3 separate regions of the Homo sapiens genome follow, and all the other regions are linked to region 3. The links are contacts of gene promoters, found by promoter capture Hi-C in human tissues and cell types (Jung and others, 2019). All regions are on one chromosome and are shown on one strand. Each heading gives the region's core, a stretch centred on a gene start or on the middle of the fragment in contact. The rest is flanking DNA. Distances are from core to core; before and after follow the strand shown.

What was found. The method cuts DNA at HindIII sites, captures the fragments that hold promoters and counts their contacts. A contact is called where the count stands out against the background at its distance.
Region 1: a contact is called between a fragment that was not itself captured here and the fragment with the promoter of MRAP2 in region 3, in 1 of the 25 tissues and cell types used here (liver).
Region 2: a fragment that was not itself captured here is called in contact with the fragment with the promoter of MRAP2 in region 3 in 4 of the 25 tissues and cell types used here (aorta, hippocampus, neural progenitor cells and 1 more).

What each region holds. Positions count from the first base shown.
Region 1 is chr6:83,981,832-83,985,359 of GRCh38, forward strand. No RefSeq gene overlaps it. Among named protein-coding and RNA genes, the nearest start is that of LINC02857, 37 kb to the right of the region's middle. The HindIII fragment of the contact is 3,785 bases long and covers 1-3,183 here.
Region 2 is chr6:84,090,261-84,093,540 of GRCh38, forward strand. MRAP2 (melanocortin 2 receptor accessory protein 2) reads left to right here. Exons shown (of 4, transcript NM_138409.4): 4 at 1-621. Among named protein-coding and RNA genes, the nearest start is that of MRAP2, 58 kb to the left of the region's middle. The HindIII fragment of the contact is 4,552 bases long and covers 1-3,280 here.
Region 3 is chr6:84,032,330-84,035,699 of GRCh38, forward strand. MRAP2 (melanocortin 2 receptor accessory protein 2) reads left to right here and starts at 1,443. Exons shown (of 4, transcript NM_138409.4): 1 at 1,443-1,554. The HindIII fragment of the contact is 8,786 bases long and covers 1-3,346 here.

The DNA of each region.
Region 1 (3,528 bases), core at 41-2,540, 51 kb before region 3:
ACTACAGAGGGCCCCTGAAGCATCCAAAAGATAGGTAAACAGGATTATTTGACATGTTAAGTTACATGGGAAGTATTGTCAAAATAAAAAATAATGTTTACTTTTCTTCAGGTTATATTTTAGCGAATGTTAATATATGTTCCAAAATTGTATGGGATTTCTAAAATTCTAATATGACTAAATATATACTATCAATCATAATTATGGTTACTGTATTAGTCCATTTTCATGCTGCTGATAAAGACATACCTGAGACTGGGCAATTTACAAAAGAAAGAGGTTTCATTGGACTTACAGCTCCACATGGCTGGGGAAGCCTCACAATCATGGTGGAAGGCAAGAAGGAGCAAGTCCTTCTTACATGGATGGCAGCAGGCAAACAGAGAATGAGGAAAATGCAAAAGTGGAAACCCCAGATAAAACCATCAGATCTTGTGAGACGTATTCACTACCATGACAATAGTATGGGGGAAACCACCCCCATGATTCAATTATCTCCCACTGAGACCCTCCCACAACACATGGGAATTATTGGAGTACAATTCAAGATGAGATTAGGGTGGGGACACAGAGCCAAACCATATCAGGTATTATGTTAGTTATTGTAGATCACAGAAATAACCAAATTTCCATGTCAATTGTGTTTTTATGACTGTTTAAAGTCATTTCTACAGTTAATTGCTTAATTCTGATGCAGTTTTTGAAAACTTCACAAGCACTGAAAATCCTAGAATATGATATATTTTAGGAGGTTTATGAAAGGATGGAACGGACCCTGAAAAGCACTCTTGAATACAGGTAAGAATTCCTATAACTTTAATGAAAAGGCTGACTGGTTTATAAAACCACTAACCCAGGTAGAACAAAATTAATTGAATACCAAGAAAATACTTTGCCAGATTTTCATGCTAAATCAACCAATACTGAAATTGTTTAGATACACAATTTAAATGAACTCCATGGTCTAAGTCAAATTACCTATGACAACCCATTAGTTGTCAGTGCTACGCACCTAAATTGGATAAACAACTGGTATTCAAGAGAACATAAGTCCAACATTAAGCATGGGCTCACGGAGAACCAGGAGGGCTGCCTTGTCCTTTCTGAGTTCTCAAAACTTTTGTTATTAAAGGTTTTGCATTCTGTGACTCATCATGGAAAACATAAAATGATCCAAATTAAATATATATTGGTGTGGTGATTTCTAAATTGCTAAAATAGTTTATGACCAATGTTTGGTTTGTGAAACCCATATTCCTTGGAAGACAAAGCTTTAGGTACGTTTGGCAACTTTATGGGCCATTCAGACATTTATAGAGGGATTTCATTCAGTTGTCATTTTCAATGCATGTTTTCTGGTTGTATAAAAGCTTTCCCATGCAAGAGGGCTGGCATTATAACAGTAGATTATTATACCACCATGTATTTTCACCAGGTAAAGAAAGCATTTCATGGTTCACTTATTGAGGACCATCAACCACTTCATAATTTAGAACCTGAAGATCGGATCTTCTGAGAACCTCAGAGAAAGACTGCCCTTGTCATCCACACTGCAGCAAAACTTCAGGACCTTGAACCTTGGGCTAATAATTTCACAACTGAGACGGCTTCATCTACACCCTTGGAACTATACCCATTAGAACCCTTAAGGTAAAGCTAACCAAGGAAGTTTCTACCCAGAAGAAGATTGCATCCTTGATATGAACAGCTTTTTCCCAAGATCATGCATCAAGACTTCTCTACTATCATGAGACTCTTACTTTGAATATTTTTCCCTTGCTTATGCCTCTATGAACAATAGAAGTGAAAAGGGGGTCTGTTGTGTGTACTAATTGTGTATACTTTGATTTGTGAAGGATTTTGAAGCCAGCCTTATACATGGATAAGCTTATACCTTGATAGATGGAAGATGAGGCGCAATGAAGGTAAGAAATTTTAAAGGTACATATGTGGCCTCATAGTCAGAAATAACACATTTGTTCATTCTTCTTAACCCACATCATGGGTTAAAGAGAACAATGCCAGGAGGCCTTCACTCTTCTAGAAGGGCATTATTTATTAGGTCCTTTTCCACCATGGTTTGGGGTAAAAGAGACAGTGACTAGAAATTTATCCCTCATAATAAGCTCTATAGCAGATTCTATTGTAAAGGCTATGGTTGCAAAACAGACTTTAAATTCTCTTGTGAAAGTTATGCTAAATAATGGAATTGCTGTAGATTACTTACTGGCTAAACAGAGAAGTGTCTGTGCAGCTGCTGGCACTTGTGGCCTGTGGAGAAATACATCACATCAGGTATTACAGAGATTCAGCTGTAGGGGATTAATGAAGAGACTGCTTAGTTAAGTAGGCAGACCCTTTATCTAGCTTATTCTTTGATCTATTTAATTTTAGGTGGTTTGGATATGGGGATCTTGGGTAACTCTTCGTGTTATGCTCCGATATTCATGATAGTAGTCTCCCTGATATACTGTATTCTCTTAAAAGATTTAAATTTTTGCATGCAGCCATCTCTAGAAAGTCAAATGGTCTCTCCAACTGGAATGACAAGAGCTGAAAGAAATGTGTGACCCTGAGGGCACTGTAACCTATAAATGACATGCTGAGACCAGAAACCCAAAATGGTAGTAACTAAGAGTGACACAAAAGCCCTAAGTTTTGGTCACACTCTCACCTAAGTGAGAACCTGACCAAAAAGGGGAGTTTTTTAACAAAATTATGGGAGGCCATTGTTTTTGACTGAACTCATGCACAAGGCCCCAACAGAGCAGACCAAACCAAAATGGAGTCACTCATACTACCCGTGACATAATCAAACTAAGACTTTAAGGAAACACACAGATCCTAGAAGAGACCAGGTTTTGGGTTTTTTCCTCCTGTTTCTCCTGTTTGTTTGTTTGTTTGTTTGTTTGTTTGTTAACAGGGGAAAAAAAACCCAAACCTGGTCTCTTCTAGGATCTGTGTGTTCCACCATAGAGTAGAAGGTCCCTCCTTGTCCTAGAGAAGATCTAGAACACATTTCTAGGACAGAATGTATAAGCCAGCCTTATCCATGGATAAACTTATACCTTGATAGATGGAAGATGAGGCCCAATGAAGATGAGAAACACATATCTATGACATTCCAGCATAAGAATCTAAGGTATAATTCCTACATGACAGGAATCTGCTCCATTAACAGTTGGTAGATCTCACTTGTAAAACTGTTTCAGCCCTCTTCTCCGAACCCAAGAGCAGTTTTTAAAATTCCTTTATAGATTATATTTAATATTTTTAAGTCTATTTGGTTCTGTGACTTTTTCTTTGAATCATTTTTGCTAACATGTTACCTAGAAAATGGTTAATTTAGTCTAACTTTTCTAATTTATTGGCAAAAAATTTGTTCACATTGTTTTATTTTTGGTATTCTTTCTATATATGCAGTTAAAGCCATTTTTTTATTTCTACTGTTTACCTGCTCTCTCTCTCTCTCTCCTCTCATTCATCAATACTTTCAAAGTTTTAGTTATTAGCATTTTTTAAAGAATT
Region 2 (3,280 bases), core at 257-2,756, 58 kb after region 3:
CCTAATTGAGCCAAGCTTTAGTCAGGGGATCTGGTTGTCTACCAGAATGTCAGGAGACTCATCTTACACAGTCATGGTGGCCAATGTTTCTGGTGGGTTGTGCTGAAACAGCTCTTCTGAGAACTTCCAACCACCCATGCTCTAACCTGGAGACAGCCATCCCCTGCCTCAGAATAAGTACCAATTCGTAGTACATGTATGGTACTCTTGTCCCCAAGAAATGTTAGGAAGCTTGTCAGCTGAATGAGAGGAGGTGCCTTCTGGGTATCTCTGTGTTGGTGTATCTGTGCCATTGGCTACAGAACAAGAAAAATACTATTTGCCATGCTATTACCTTGGCAGATGTGTAGGTGATAGTCATCTGGCTTTGAGCTGAGATGGTCAGTGGGTTGTAAATTCCCCACTAGCAGATATTCAGGGTGGCCTGAGTTATGTAAACAAGTGAGCAACACAGCTTTAATTTCATGGAGGAATCAAAGCTGCACACTGGTATTAAAACAACTTGATTTTGCGCACACAGTTGCATGCATGGCAAGCTGTTAACCTCTGGGTGGCATTTTCATTATGAATTTGTTCACCACCTGTCTTGCTTAAGCTACAAAATAAATGCATTTGACTGCACAGAAATTTCCTCTGGTTCTTTATTTTCACACATCCAATTTTTTGTTTCCCAAAAAGTTGTACCATGTTTATAATGTCTCCTAACTTCTTGGAGTAGGCAGTGCTGACTGTACCATCTCTGGGATTCTGGTGATCTGAGCCATGCATGAGATTTAGGGATTATTTCGCTAAAAGAAATCCCTTTTCTATTGTGTATTTTAAAGAAAATATCATTCTTTAAGACTCTAAATAGTAAAACAAAGCATGGAATTTTTTTGTAATTAAAGCTACTTTAACATATTTTTTATAAATAGATGCTATTTTCATGAATTTTTTATGCAAGAGAGCAAGAGTATTAAAGAATGCTGAGTTTGTTAACTTTTTTTTTTTTTTTTTTTTTTTGAGAGACGGAGTCTTGCTCTGTCGCCCAGGCTGGATGGCTCACTGCAGCCTCCCCTCCTGGGTTCAAGTGATTCTCCTGCCTCAGCTTCCCAAGTTGCTGGGACTACAGGCACGTGCCACCACGCCTAGCTAATTTTTGTATTTTTTAGTAGAGACGAGATTTCACTATATGTTGGCCAGGCTGGTCTCGAACTCCTGACCTCAAGTTATCTGCCTGCCTTGGCCTCCCAAAGTGCTGGGATTGCAGGTATGAGCCACCATGCCTGGCCAGAGTTTAACTTCTAATATGAGTATGATTATTCATAATTTATTTAATGAAATATAAATCATGGGCTATTATTAAAGTTCACAGCTACTTAAGTGGTATCTTATTTAGAAGTAGATTTATTGATCAGAAGATTGAAAGATACTTAAACGTCAGACAAATACCCATGACTATATCATCATTTTTATGAACTAAATGTTAAGAACTGTGAATGGTCCAAGATTTTGCCCCTTCTGCAAATCAGCTTGCCATAGTCTCATGGATGCTGCCAGAAGACACAAGAGTCTTGGGTCAGAGACAAAAATCTTCATTACAGCACAGCAGGCCACATATGCTTCATGCTCATGTTGGTTCCTGAGTTTGTTTCCTACTGCTGTTGTAACGAATTACCACAAATTTAGTGACTTAGAGCAACACAAATTTATTCTCTTCCAGTTCTAGAGTAGACAAGTCTAAAATCAGTTTCAGTGGGCTAAAATCAAGGTGTTAGCACAGCAGCATTCCATCTGGAGGCTCTCAGGATTAATCAGTTTTCTTGCCTTTTCTATCTTCCAGGGGTTGCTCCCACTCTGTGGCTCCTCTTCTTCCACTTTACATCTCTGTCTTTAACCATCCTGCTTCTCTCTTATAAGGACCTTTGTGATTACATTGGGTTACCTAAGATGATCTCCCCATCTTGAGATCCTTCATTTAATCACATCTGTAAAGTGTGTGCCTTTTGCCACATAAGGCTACATATTGACAGGTTTCAGGGATTAGGATGTGGACATGCTTGGGGAACCATTAGCCTGCTAGTCTTCCCTTTGGCCCCAAAGGTTTATATCCATTCTATATGCACAATACATACACCCCATCCCAATATACTCCACAGTCTCAATTCATTATAGAATCAATTCAAAGTCACATGTATTACCTAAATCTTATCAGCTTAAAAGTCCCAAATCTTATTATCTTAACCATCTAATTTCAGTATTAGTGAGATCCTGGGTATGATTCATCCTGGGGAAAAACTCTCCATCTGTGGACCTGTAAAACTAGAAAATAAGTTATTTTCTCCCAAAATACAATGATGTGACCGACATAAGATACTAGTTACTAATAGTTGTCTTTCAGTATATGCAGGGGATTGGTTCCAGGCCCCCTGTATACACCAAAATCCTAGCATACTTAAGTTCCACAGTAGGTCCTGCAGAACCCGTGTATATGAAAATTAGCTCTCCGTATAGGTGGGTTTCGCATCCCAAGAATACTGTATTTTCAATCCCCATTTGGTTGAAAAAAAATCTGCATACAAGTGGACACGTGCAGTTCAACCCTATGTTGTTCAAGGATCAACCGTATTCCCATTCCAAAAAGGAGAAAATGGAAGGAAAAAATGAATCATCAGTCCCCAAAATAACAAATCCTTCAAACTGGGAAAACTGTTAAGCTGCAAGGCCTGGAAATAGTCTTTTGTGACTTCTGGCTACATTCTCTGGGCCTGAAGCTCCACTCTTGGAATCATCTTTTCTTTTTCTTGAAAGGTACAATGTGTTTTTAGCTGAGTAGTTTTATCAGCCTTTTTTTCTGCATGTAGAATTTTGGGAGTCTGATAGCCTTCATTTATCTTGCCCTCACTCTGTCCATTTCAGTTGAAGTTGTTATCAGTGCCCTGGGTTCTTGTAATCTTCCAGTATAGACATCAAGAGAGATCACCAAACATAGGAGCAAAGAGAAAGAGAGAGAATAGGGCAAGAAAAATAGAGAGAGAGAAAGAAAAAGGGAATGGGGACTTATCCTATGTAGGAACTTGACTCACCGAGGCACCAGGGTGAAACAATGGTGCAGCTGCCTTGGTTTGTGCCTGGTCAGCCATCTCTGTCGTCTGGGCTGTGCCATTTGCTCCCACAGGACCCTAAAATGAGGGTTCTATCTGGAGTGCCATGAGATGTAATCAGCACCCTGGGTTCTTGTAATCTTCCAGGATGGAAATACAGATCACCAGACATAACAGCAAAGAGAAAGAGAAAGCTT
Region 3 (3,370 bases), core at 193-2,692:
AACACATGGACACAGGGAGGGGAACATCATACACCGGGGCCTGTCGGGGGTGGGCGGCAAGGAGAGGAAGAGCATTAGGACAAATACCTAATGCAAGCGGGGCTTAAAACCTAGATGACAAGTTGATAAATGCAGCAAACCACGCTGGCACATGTATACCTATGTAACAAATCTGTACATTCTGCACATGTATCCCAGAACTTAAAATTAAAAAAAAGAAGAAGAAGAAAAATGGTGTTCAAAATATTTCATTTTACAAGTGGTAATGAAACTGAGCTTTTAAAAAAAAATCAGTGATGAGATGTCATTTCCAGGAATCCTCTTTTGGCACCACCAGCTTGAGTTCATCACACTGCCACCAGCCTGCATGGGTGCTGCATTTCCCCTGCTGCTGTATAATGGTGGTTAAACTATGGTTCTGGGGCACCAGGCTTCCTGACCTTGAAGGCAAGCTCCTCTATTGACTAGCATATGACCTTGGGCAGTTCCTTTAACCTTCCTAAGTTACAGTTTCTCATCAGTAAAATGGAAATGGTGGCAATACCTGTCTAATATGGCATATGGAGAGTAGTAAAAGAAATGACTAGTGCAGTAAAGAACATCTCAGTGCCTGCCACACAGCAAGTGCTTTCTCTCCAGATACCAGCGTGACTTCTTTCTGTCTCATCTCCTTTAGATCTTTACTCCACTGTGAAGCCATCTTTGACCATCCCATTTAAAAATGCACCCCCTACCTCCAAACATTATCCCATTTCCTCCCTTCTTTTTTGTCCACCGCACTTCATCACTATCTCACATACTATGTATTTTAGTTATTTGTTATGTTTATGCCTGTCTCTTTAGTAGAATGCAAGCACCAAGCACCTGTATTCCCAGATCAATGCCTGGCATGCAATAAGGACTCAAGGGAGGAAGAGATGAGCCAGCCCTGCTATGCTGAAACTACTCCCGGCCCAGTGCTAGCCCTTTGGGACCCCGTTTGAACGTCTGACTGCCCTTTGACACCTGGACCAGTGGGCAGGAAGAGAAACTAAAATCGAGGTAGTAATTTAAGCAGCACATTATGGGGGGGCTCTGGCCTTACTGAACTTGAACTCAATGCTGCCGATTTTTCATAAGCCTTGATTCATGATACCCCACTCCCTCTTGCTCAGCTAATGAGCTCCTCCTGTTACCCAAAGTTGACCCGAGGGACCCACTGCAGAGCCCGGGATGGCAAAGAATTCTCTGACTCAGGCTCTGACCCGGACTCGGAGGGGCAAAGTGAGCAGGAAAGGGATCTGCAAAGCTCACCTCCTCTTGGCCAAGGCGGCCTCGCGCTGGGGAGGCGGCTCTCGCGCTGGGGAGGCGGCTCCCGCGCTGCAGCCCTGCTCCGGCGCCCCGCGCCGCCTCCGCTGCGGGTCGGGAGCGCGCGTCTCCGCCGCACCTCGGATCTAGGAGCTACTCGCCCGGCCCTGGGCGGTGGGAGGCGGCGGCGGCGGCGGCGCTCGCGCACCTCGGAGGAGCCAGGAGCCGGAACCAGGGCCGAGCCCGCGGGCCGGGGCTAGCCAGCCGGTAACCACGGGCGGGACAGGGCGCCCAGGGCGGAGCAAAGCCCGGGCGCTGGGTGCGGGGCGCGTGCAGCTTTGGTCAAGGCAGGGCTTGCTTGGGTTTGGGGGCAGTCTTTAGTTTAGAGGGGCTAGAGAATGGGGTGGGAGGAGGAGAATTGGGGTGTGAGGACGCCCACGGGAAGAGTGTGGACCCCGTGGAGAGCACCAAGTTTAAAACCTTCCCGGCAGCCCGCTGATGTGCGTGTGGACGCCGCTGGGCGTCCGAAAAGCCTGGAAGCGGCGGCGCTCGGGGCTTGGGTGGGCTTCCTCCCCTCCGCTGGGCCCCAGCGGCCGAGGCACACCCTTTCCCGCTGGTGAGAAAACTTTCCTTGCTGCGGCCCTCCTGCCGCCTTGGTGCCCTGCAACTGAGAGAGCCCCCCTGGGCTGGGGAAATGTGCTGGCTCCTGGCCCCGGGCGCGCCTCCATGCACTGGGCAGGGTTCTCAGATGATGCCTGGCTTGACAGTTGCTCATTCATTTTGTTTGGACTGGGGAGCCTGCTCGCAGGTCGTGTTACTGATTAGAGGGAAATAGGGGTTTTACACTTTCCCCGCCGCCCCACCCCGCAACCCGCCCCCGCTCCCCCCGCCCGCCCCGCGCCCCGTGCCCCGTGCCTTTCCCATCCTTTCTGTGTAATTAATTGAGGAAGGCAAAGAGTAGTCTCTGCAGAAACCTGTTTGGAGGCGTTGTGGTTTCCACAGCATGTTAGATGGCACAGAATCTCAGCCACTACTCTGCATTTAGTTTGACAACAGTGAAACACTCTGGTGTTTTGAAGGCAAAGGAAGCTTGAGGGAATGTGTCCAGGGAGACGAGAGAAGGGAACTCTTATGCATAAATTAATTCTTACGAAAACCCCAAAAGTAAACAGTAGTATTTTCAGTTTGCAGGTAGAGAAAATTAGATTGCGATATTAAATACGTTTTCCAAGGTGACTGCCCCAGTTAAGTAATAGTGGGGAGTAGGGGTCTGGAAGCTAGGACTGTGAGTCTAGTTTCCTTTAGGTACATTGCATGGGGTACACAGACAAGAACAGGTGCAGGAGAGTGACGAGGGCCTGCAAGGATAAGGTCAGGAAAGCCAGAGGCCACTGTGAGCTGGGGTACCCACAAGGAGTTTCGTTCTTATGAGGAAGATCATCCAGTGTTTATGGAAGAATAGATAATATTAACAGGTGATAGGAAAAGGAAGAGTTGCTTCCAGTCTGTATCTTTCTTTTCAAAGTGAGGCCAGCCTAAACCCTTTAAAGAGGGTCTCGAAGCCCGAAACTGGACTGGATTGTTCAAAACCCAAATGGCAGACGTCCTAGAGTAGTGAAAGCGGTTACAGTCATCTTTGTGCAGGTATGAGAGATGAGAATGGACCCAGGAGACTTTTTAAAAGAGGGAAACATTGAATCCTGGCAACATTCTAGAACAAATTCTTTAAGATAGCTCAAAACTACCTAGGGAAGCATTTACAAATACTTACGCCAAACCAACTCCCTTCCCTTTTCTAGCAATCTACTGGGATATAGATCAGGGTATGCTGTATCCATTGTCTTCAAATGTGGGCTGTGACTCATTAGGCTAATGATCAGTTTAGTGAGTTGCAAATAGCAGTTTTTAAAACATGAAAGCCAAGAGAAAGAAAGATAAGATATCAGAGTGCATTGCAGGAGCAAGGGAAAGTACTGTTTTGTGAAGCGCGCGCTGGTGATGCATGTGTCCTGTTCTGTGTTGCTGATCCTGCTGCCTCTGCGTGAGTGTTCATACCCATCGCTAGCTGCCCCCTTTCAGCCTT